Regions from separate parts of the Homo sapiens genome. Here regions 1 and 3 are each linked to region 2. Evidence: promoter capture Hi-C in 16 types of primary human blood cells and fetal thymus (Javierre and others, 2016). All regions are on one chromosome and are shown on one strand. Each heading gives the region's core, a stretch centred on a gene start or on the middle of the fragment in contact. The rest is flanking DNA. Distances are from core to core; before and after follow the strand shown.

What was found. Contacts are between HindIII fragments. The CHiCAGO score rates a contact against its expected background, and 5 or more counts as called.
Region 1: a fragment that was not itself captured here is called in contact with the fragment with the promoter of CRIM1 in region 2 in 1 of 17 cell types (M2 macrophages); the score reaches 5.9 in M2 macrophages.
Region 3: a fragment that was not itself captured here is called in contact with the fragment with the promoter of CRIM1 in region 2 in 1 of 17 cell types (total CD4 T cells); the score reaches 5.7 in total CD4 T cells.

The regions. Positions count from the first base shown.
Region 1 is chr2:33,594,921-33,598,244 of GRCh38, reverse strand. It overlaps FAM98A (family with sequence similarity 98 member A), which reads left to right. Exons shown (of 8, transcript NM_015475.5): 2 at 2,608-2,756. Among named protein-coding and RNA genes, the nearest start is that of FAM98A, 2.7 kb to the left of the region's middle. The HindIII fragment of the contact is 1,828 bases long and covers 496-2,323 here.
Region 2 is chr2:36,353,973-36,357,027 of GRCh38, reverse strand. CRIM1 (cysteine rich transmembrane BMP regulator 1) reads right to left here and starts at 1,250. Exons shown (of 17, transcript NM_016441.3): 1 at 405-1,250. The coding sequence starts at 735. It overlaps CRIM1-DT (CRIM1 divergent transcript), which reads left to right and starts at 1,458. Exons shown (of 2, transcript NR_037631.1): 1 at 1,458-1,940; 2 at 2,047-2,279. The HindIII fragment of the contact is 11,087 bases long and covers 1-3,055 here.
Region 3 is chr2:34,086,432-34,089,866 of GRCh38, reverse strand. All of the region lies in intron 4 of LINC01317 (long intergenic non-protein coding RNA 1317), which reads right to left. Among named protein-coding and RNA genes, the nearest start is that of LINC01318, 21 kb to the right of the region's middle. The HindIII fragment of the contact is 5,945 bases long and covers 1-3,435 here.

The DNA.
Region 1 (3,324 bases), core at 160-2,659, 2.8 Mb after region 2:
ATTTTCTCTTAGGTTTTTCCATGACAAGGAAACCTTTGAGAGAAACCTTTCTTTAGGAAAAAACACCTTGAGGATTCCCAAAGTCTGCCTATTTGAATAATTTACTACCCTAGTAGAAATTTTTAGGAACGAAGTAGTCTTGCTTATCATCTGTCTTTGTCACAGTGAAATACTATTGTTCTTTTCTTGGAAACTTGCTCTGAATTTTTATAAATATTCCAGACTTTAGGGGGCTTCTTTCTTTCATTAGGGCATATGTTAAAGTCATTCAGCAAAATAGTCTCTTTAGTTGACATCTCAGACTGAATCGCTTGTTCACACATGAAACCATTCATTCATTAGGACTTTTTTAGGAACAGTTTCTTTGTGGCAGTGTTAGGCCCTTAGAGTACAAGGTGAGGTGGAAGAGGGGTTCACAGGATACTGGGAAAATATGCTGTGAGGAGCCCTGAGGAGGGTCCCTTTACTGGGAAAGGAAATGAAATCCTAGAAGCTTCTTTCTGGAATAAATGACACTATAGTACTGTAGTGGAATGAGTGGAATGAAAGGAAGGGGGTAGACCTTATTAAATGTAGTCTTTCTGCATGGATAGTGGTCACTTAAGAATTGGCCACGGATGCTGTTTCTTCCCATTATTGTCTTTTTTTTTCCCCCTCCTTTTTTTAACTTTTTATTCTTTTGGGTACTGTACAAGTAATTGTTACTGTAGTAATTGTAATCACATAACTACTTGACATAGAGTGTAATGTAAACCATGGATTTTCTGAAAACTGTTATAAATTTTAACCTTAACTACTTAGTTTGGTGGCATTCAAATATTAAAAGTCAGCCTTAATTAACTGAAATGTACTTTTAAAGGATTAACTGAGAAATATTAGAATTAAATGACTACCTTTTCTATTTATTTATTTATTAAGAGATGAGGTCTTGCTCTGGTGACCAGGCTGGTCTCGAACTCCTAGCCTCAAGCGATCCTCCCACTTCAGGCTCCGGAGTAGCTGGGACTACAGGTGTATGCCACTGATCCTGGCAAATAGTCATCTTTTATCTCTTACCTGGCACACAGTAGGAATTCAGTAACTACTTGTTGAATAAACTAATGAAGTCTAAATGTGAAACTCAAGGAGAAACTTCTAGGCCTAGTCTTTTGATTTCAGTGTCTAATAATACATAGTTTATAAATCTAGATGCCAGACTACATGTGATCTCATTTTTTTATGTATGATTTGTTTTCATTTTGTTGCATATACTGTATAAACCTATAATCATATTTTAAAGGGTTTGAGAACTGTCATTTCTCTAACATACCTGTAGTTCTCAACATTATATTATCTTTTTTTTTTTTTTTTTTTGATACGGAGTCTTGCTCTGTCGCCCAGGCTGGAGTGCAGTAGTGCGATCTCGGCTAACTGCAAGCTCTGCCTCCTGGATTCAAGCCATTCTCCTGCCTCAGCCTCCTGAGTAGCTGAGACTACAGGCGCCCTCCACCATGCCTGGTTAATTTTTTTGTATTTTTATTAGAGATGGGGTTTCATCGTGTTAGCCAGGATCGTCTTGGTCTCCTGACCTCGTGATCCACCTGCCTCGGCCTCCCAAAGTGCTGGGATTACAGGCGTGAGCCACCACGCCTGGCCTAAACATTATATTATCTTAAGCATATTTATTGTATCATCTTAAGTAAGCATTATTATCAATATTTAAGAGAATGTAAAGCAATCTGAATAATATGTATTTAAGATTACTTGGAGTGACAGAAATCTTATATTTTAGAATATTGGTGATTGGAGTTCATTATGACTGTCATCTTTTATGAATGTTTGAACATTTTTAAATTTTTTAAAATTATATTGGAATCACTTACAAAGGATTAGGATTCAGATGCGCCAGTTCATTAACTGCCAATATTTATTAACCTAACCTGACGTTTCTTTGGTACTAGAATGTCTTACTAGTCTTAACTGGCATTAAATTTATAAAAATGATATAAATGGTTAACTGGAAAGTTTTTACTTTTAAAGGAAGTCATTAAAAACCTAACTAAGCCTGGGCAACATAGTAAGACCCCTGGCTATTTTATAAAAAATAAAAAAAAAGCCAGGTTTGGTGGCTTGTGCCTTCACTGCACTTCAGCCTATGTGACAGTGCAAGACCTCATCTCAAAATAAAAACATAATCTAGTTGTTTTCTGGAAAATTTTTAGAAAAGATAACCTAAGTTTTATTTCTGAAATAAGTTACAGTATAATTAGCTATTACTTGTTAATTTGCTTTTAATACTCAATTCAATTACAGTAAGAAAATAAATCTTTTTACAATGGAAGCTTTTAGTAAATGTACAGAAGTTGACATAATTTAGTAGTATATGCAATTCTGTTAGATATTCACCTACATTTTGAAAGGTTGAAATGCAGCTACCATTTAGCTGCTTTTTGTAATGGTTCAGTATAGTTCTAAATTATGTTTATATTTGTCCATTTAAAATAAAGATAAGTACTAACTTATCTTTATTAAATTATTGCTTATATAAATAAGACATAGATATGTTTTATCTGTAATATATTAGGTATGATTGTATTTTCTTCTGAAATGTAATTTCTTGCTCACCAGTTACAAGGGCCCATTGTTGGAAGATGGAGCGCTCTCTCAGGCAGTCTCTGCTGGAGCCAGTTCCCCCGAGTTTACCAAACTCTGTGCTTGGCTGGTGTCTGAATTAAGAGTGCTCTGTAAACTAGAGGAAAACGTGCAAGCAACTAACAGTAAGTAAACATTCACTTTTAGGTACAAAGTATAAAAATAACATTGAGGTATTGTCAACTGAACATTATCAATACTAAAGCTGAAAGTTGCAAGTTTTTGTAAATGTAAAAAATTTGTAAAGAAGCCAAGATTTTTTTTCCGTCCGTTGTTTTTAGAGGTGATTCAGAAGTTGAAATACCAGAATAAAGTCATGTAACTTAAAAATTCGTGGATGCTGAAAAGACCCTATTACTGGGATACAGAGAAATGGAGACCACAAGCATAGAATGTATGAACTTCCTATATTTTGTAAGATGTTAAATGTAAGATCCTAGATTGATGGCTAGAACTAGATACTGGGATATTTTTCTTTTAGGATTACCAGATTCTAGAAGCATCTATAGCATGTAGAGTAAATGCATTATTATTCTGTTATGCTTGGGGAGAAAGAGAACACTTTGTTAAGACATTTTGTTTATCATAAGAATGCATCGTTAGATACATCACAGTGAGATCCAGGACAATCAAATTTATGGATCTGAGAGCTGTTCTGCATTTACCAATTTTGTTTCCACTGTTGCACTAGTT
Region 2 (3,055 bases), core at 1-2,500:
GTGCGGGGAGGGCGGTAGGGCCGGGCTCCCCGAGGGGCTCGCGCGCGGCAGAATCTGCAGTGCCCCCCGCCCGCGGCGCCCCCACCTCGGGGAGCAAGGCCGGGCCACCCAGTCCCAGCAGGAACGGCCACACGTGTGCGCGTCTGCGCGGGGACAGGGGCGATCCTCCACTCGCTCGCCCCCACCCACCATACCCAACCTCGCCCGCGACTGCCTAAGCGTCGGGGGGAACAAGGAGAGGGAACGCAGGGCCGCGGGGGCACTCTCCTGGGGGCGGCGGCCGCCCCTCTTCCCGCAGAGCCCTCTTTCCTCCAGAAAGTCTCGCCCAAACTTTGTTCGGCACAACCAGCGCCGAGGGGGCGGCGCAGGCCAGGTGGGAGGGGGCCCGCAGCGGGCGGCCGTACCTTCGCAAACGCCCGCTTCGTACTCGGTGAGGGAGTCGCCATTGAGCGGGGGGCGGATGACACAACGCAGCCCCCGGTCGCAGGTTCCGTAAATCCCGAAGGTGCCGCCGCAGCTCTCGTTCCTCTGGCTGGCGCACGTGTAGCAGCAGCCGCAGACGCCCTGCACGATGCTCCCCGGGCAGTTCCTGGGCTCCTCGCACTTGGACTCGTCACAGGGCAGGCAGACCAGCGCCCGGGTGCCGGAGCGCGCCAGCAGCAGCAGCAGCCCCAGCAGCGAGACCAGGAGGTGCCCGCAGCCGGCCAACCCCCTGTCCCCCGCCACCAAGTACATCCTCCTGCGCCGCCGCCGCCTCCTCCTCGCAGCCGGGCCGGGAGCGGGGCGGGCGCCCTCCCCTGCGCGGGGCACACGCGCCGCCGCCGCCGCACCAGCAGCCCGCGGTCCTCACCGCCCCTCTCGGGGCCCCCGGGGCGCGCCTCCCCTCGCGGGGCGAGGCCCCCGCCCCTTCTGCGGGCCGCGCCGACCCCGAGCCCACGAGCCTTGGCGCCGGCGGCAGCTTCCCCTCCTCCTCCTCCTCCTCCTCCCGGGAGGGAGGGGGAAAAAAGAAAAAAGTTTCCTCCCGGCAGCTCCGGTTCAACCCAAACTTCTGGCGCGGCGGCGGCGGTGGCTGCTGCGCTCGGCTCCAGCCCGGGCCGGCGGCGCCTCCTCCCTCTCCTCCTCCGAGTCGGCCGGCCCCGCAGCGGCGCAGCCTCCGGGCCGGTCCCCGCCTCCCGAGCTGCCGAGTGGGCGCGGTGGCGCAGCACAAGATCCGCGGCGTCCGCTCCGCGCGCCCCGCTCGCCTCACTCCTGCGCCGCTCCTCCGGGCGCTTGTTTATGGCTGGAGCCTCAGCCGCTCGGGCTGCGCCCTCCCCCATCCTACCTCCTCCCCCAGACCTTCCCCCCACCCCCACGCGCCGCGCGCCGCTCATTGGCTGCCCCCCCTCCCCGGCCCGGCCGGCCCCCTCCGCCTCCCCCTCCCCCTCTCGGGCGGCCGGGCCCTTCCTCCCTCCCTCACACGCCTCCACCTCTTCCCGATCTCCTCCTCCCCGAGCCCGGCGCACCGAGCCGGCCGTGCCACCGAGCTGCGGCTCTGGCCCCGGCGCCGCGGGTGCGCTGCGGATGGGCTTGGGGCGCACCCAGCGAGCAGCGAGAGTCGCGGTGTCCCGGGCGCTCGCTGGCACCGTGGCCGCAGCGGCCGGCCTGGGAGCCAGGAGGGCGAGGCGGCTGCACCTTCGGGGCCAGATTGGAGTTCGAAGAGTGGCGGGTACCCCAGAAGCTCGGGGCCGGGGCGATGGCTGCAGCCTCGGGAGGGTATCGCCGGATCGAACTCCGGGAAAGGGAAGCAAAGGCATGGAACCTCCGCACACTGGATGAGAATCCATCTTCCATTCGAGCTGGGAATAGACTTTGTGAAAGATATTATGTAATGGAGTCTCGGGAACCCTGAGACCTCTCCAGCGAAGCTGAAGTGAATTAATTAAGTGCTTTAAACGGTCTTGGTAAATATTCCGCGGGAGCTGGGGAGGACCGTTGGGATGGCTGTAGCTTGAGTTGAATTTTAACTGTCCTCATTCTGGGTTTTGTCGCTCTGCTTTCTGTGCCAAGGTGCTGTGTTACGGGAGAGAGTGACTGGAAAGTAACAAAGCTGAATCTTTCTCCCTGGAGTAAGGCCGAAGACTGGATTACTACACGCCTAGACGTGACACTACACCCATAGATCTCATGCATCATTAATGCCATATGACATTGCCATTTTCTTTCTCAGTTCACGGACAAAAGTGGTGGGTTTTCATTGTCTTCACTGATTGTCAATGCATTAATAAAGAAGATGTGTGGTACATAGTCTTTGTGATAAATCAGGTAAAGAAGCAACGGAAGTGATGCAAAATGCACGGTGTGGAGATGGTTTCTCTTCAGTGGTTGTCAGAAAAGGTTTTCGTAATGATGGCTCTGTCATTGATGGGATATGAAGTAGTAATCCGCTCCGTAGTGACCTACCATTCACAAGATGGGTACCAGGTGAATAACATTAATTAATTGACAAAAAGTGACTGTGGTCAATGGGGGAAAAAATCGATCCCGTGGCAGGTGTGACGTGGGAATGGCTGGCCCACCCTCTGATCCAAGATGGTCTGGCTGCAGGAAGGTGGCAGCCAAGTGGATTCTGAAAATCGTGACTAATGAACCGAAAGTTAATAGCTGGCAGTGCAAGGAAAGAGGAAACAAAGCTACCTTTGAAATGTTATGTTTGTGGAACAAATTCATACTTACGATAAATATTTTAGTTTAACCACTCTGTCTAATCCTGAACCCAAAAGCCAGAGTTACCAGTGGACTATTCCCCCATGATGGGCATCAGCAAACTAAACATTTCTCCTATCATATTTCTTTGTCCAAGGAGAGGAAGAGGCTCATTAATTATCATTGATTATTATAGGGCCATGAGGAAGATGTTCAACCGTGGAAAAGGGGAGAGAGCATTGCATTTTCTAGACGGGTTTAAAGAGTTGTTGCAATGAAATGATTCCTGTAGTTGGGTGGGAAGTCCGATTAGATGATCTCCAAAGGCCCTCATACCCTGTGGGTCCATAATAAGTGTTAAGTGGCAAAATCG
Region 3 (3,435 bases), core at 679-3,178, 2.3 Mb after region 2:
ACTGAGACTTGTTTTATGGCCAAAATGTCTCCTATCTTAATGAGCATTACACGTATAGTTCAGAAAATTAAAAACAAAGTATTCTGTTATTTGAGGACAGAAAAATCAATAAATGTGAATTGATTTAACTCATTTGATAGTGTCGTTTAAACCTACTATATCTTCACTAATTTTCTGTTTACATGCTTTATCAATTACTGAGAAAGGAGTTTTGAAATCTCCAACTGTAATTCTGAAATTGCCTAATTCTCCTTTCAGTTCTATCAGTTTTTCCTTCATGCATTTTTATAGGTTATTGTGTACATAATATTGTATTCTTATGTATTGTTGATTAATTTTTTATATAACTTTATTATGATTAGTGTTGGTATGGAATATCTTTCCCTATCATTTCTTTTGTATCCCGTCTGTATTTTTATATTACAGGTGGTTTTCGACCAGGCGCAGTGGCTCACGCCTGTAATCCCAAAACTTTGGGAGGCCAAGGCAGGCAGATCACTTGAGGCCAGGAGTTTGAGACCAGCCTGGCTAACATGGTGAAACCCCATCTGTACTAATAATACAAAAAAATTAGCTGGGTGTGGTGGGGTGCACCTATAATCCCAGCTACTCAGGAGGTCAAAGGCACAAGAATTGTTTGAACCCAGGAGGCAGAGGTTGCAGACCACGCCACTGCATTCCAGCCTGGGTGACGGAGGGAAACTATGTCTCTAAATAAATAAATAAAAAGTGGTTTTCTTGTAGACAGTATACAATTAAATCTTGATATTTATACACTCTAATAACCTCTGCTTTTATTTAAAATATTTAGTACATAAACATTTACTAAAACTATTTAACATACAGTCAGACCAGTCAATATTTGCTTTTTTTTAACTATCATCAACTGAGAAATGCAGACTTATCTGAAAAAATAATTTTTATCCAGTTTCAAAATTGAAACTTTTCCAAGAAGTATGATTAATTGTGAATGGCGCAAAATACTAAGGGCATAAGCAAGAAATGAATAAGGAAGGAAGGAAGAGATGAACAGGCCTTGAGGTAATGGAAACATGTACAATGGACTATGGAACCTGATTATATGAAAACAGTACTGGAGCCCAATGCCTGGAAAGAATAAACAGCAAAGTTAAAAATAATAGTACAAGGTTCTGGAAAGAGTGTAGCTAAGAGGAAAGAAAATTTTAGACCGGGCATGTTGGCTCACGCCTGTAATCCTAGCACTTTGGGAGGCCGAGGTGGGCGGTTCACGAGGTCAGATCAAGACCATCCTGGCTAACACGGTGAAACCCCATCTCTACTAAAAATACAAAAAAATTAGCTGGGCGTGGTGGCAGGCACCTGTAGTACCAGCTACTCCGGAGGCTGAGGCAGGAGAATGGCATGAACCCAGGAGGCAGAGCTTGCAGTGAGCCGAGATTGTGCCACTGCACTCCAGCTTGGGTGACAGAGCGAGACTCCGTCTCAAAGAAAAAAAAGAGTAAAGAAAATTTTAGATTAACATCTAATTTCTCACTGGAAGATCAAGTAAATGCTAAGAATATAATTTTTACCATGTTGTAAATATTGAAAATTTAAAACTGATATATCACTTTAAAAATGTAATATATTTAATATACTTACTATGGCAATTTAATATGTGCCATGCATTATAAAAATACGTGAATAAGTTCCTCTTTAAATGATTAATATTTCACATGACTCGTTTTTAACCTTAATTTGTATTTCCATTTCACTTCTCCCACAGAATTTTATCTGAGTGACATGTTTCTATGTTTGAAAGTCTTTGATTTAACATCCTATTTACATTTCTGCAACAAGAATATGTATATAAATTAATTTTTGTAAATTTATGCTATTTTTTTCCTGGATTTAGTATTCATGCAATTGTTAGTAGTAGCCAATTGATAAAAACATTTGGCAGGTCAGTCTCCTCCCAGTTCACTACTTTCAAAAATAAGTTGGTAATTTAAAATTATTTATTTTAAATTATAGATGATGTGATTCAGATATATAATGCTGAAGTTCATGTAATTGGACAAAATTAATATAACCATCCTTCTGCTATTCCCATCTGCTTGTTAATATAAATACATGTCCTTAGTCTTTAAACTATGAAAAACAAACAAATTATTAATTTAGGAATAAATCTGATACTAAACCTTCTCCCATTCTACTAATAAACAATGCTTGCCCATGTAAACAACACTTTTTAAAAATGTATATTCATCTCATTAAGAGATGCATTGTTAATAAAATGTTACATTTAATAATTATCAAATTTTGTGAGACAACATATTATAAAGACTAAAAGAGTTTCTCTAAAGACTCCACCAACAAACTTGTTAGGACTTACAAACAAATTTAGTAAAGTTGCAGCATACAAAGTCAAGATACAAAAATCAGTAGCATTTCTATGCAAGTCAAAATCACAGTGAAATACCATCTCATAAAAGTCAGAATGGCTACTATTAAAAAGTTAAAAAATAACAAGTGCTGATGAGGTTGTGGAGAAAAAGCGATGCTTATACACTGCTGGTGGGAGTGTAAATTAGTTCAATCATTATGGAAAACGGTGACAACTCTTCAAAGACCTCAAATCAGAATTACCATTAGACCCTGCAATTCCTCCCAAAATTCCAATGTGGGGTATATACCCAAAGGAATGTAAATTGTTCTATTATAAACACACATGCGTGTTTATGTTCATTGCGGCCCTATTCACAATAGCAAAGACGTGGAATCAACTTAAATGCCCATCAATCGTAGACTGGATAAAGAAAATGTGGTACATATACACCATAGGATACTTCTCAGCCATAAAAAAGAACAAAATCATGTCCTTTGCAAGAACATGGATGGAGCTGGAATCCATTATCCTTAGCAAATTAATGCAGGAACAGAGAACCAAATACCATGTGTTCTTACTTATAAGTGGGAGCTAAATGATGAGAAGACATGGACACAAAGAGGGGATCAATGGACACTTGAGGCTGTTGGAAGGTGGAGGTTGGGAGGAAGGACAGGTTCAGAAAACACACCTAATGGGTATTAGGCTTAATAATTGGGTGATGAAATAATATGTACAACAAACCCCCATGATACAAGTTTACCTATATATCCAGCCTGCACATGTTCCCCCGAACTTAAAAGTTAAAAAAAAACAAAATAGCATAACATATATTCCTTGTTAAAAATGGAAAGAATACATTTCTACATAAATCTGAACATGAAATTAGCCTGTGTCCAATTTCCCATTTTGTGCATAGTCAATCAATTACATCTATGCAAAATACTTGTCATTTTTTAAGGCTTAGAAAATTGCACCTTAACAGTTCGTCCATTTTTTTTTTTTTTTTTTTTTTTGAGACAGAATCTCGCTCTGTCGCCCAGGCTGGAGTGCAGTGGTGCCATCTCGGCTCACTGCAAGCTCTG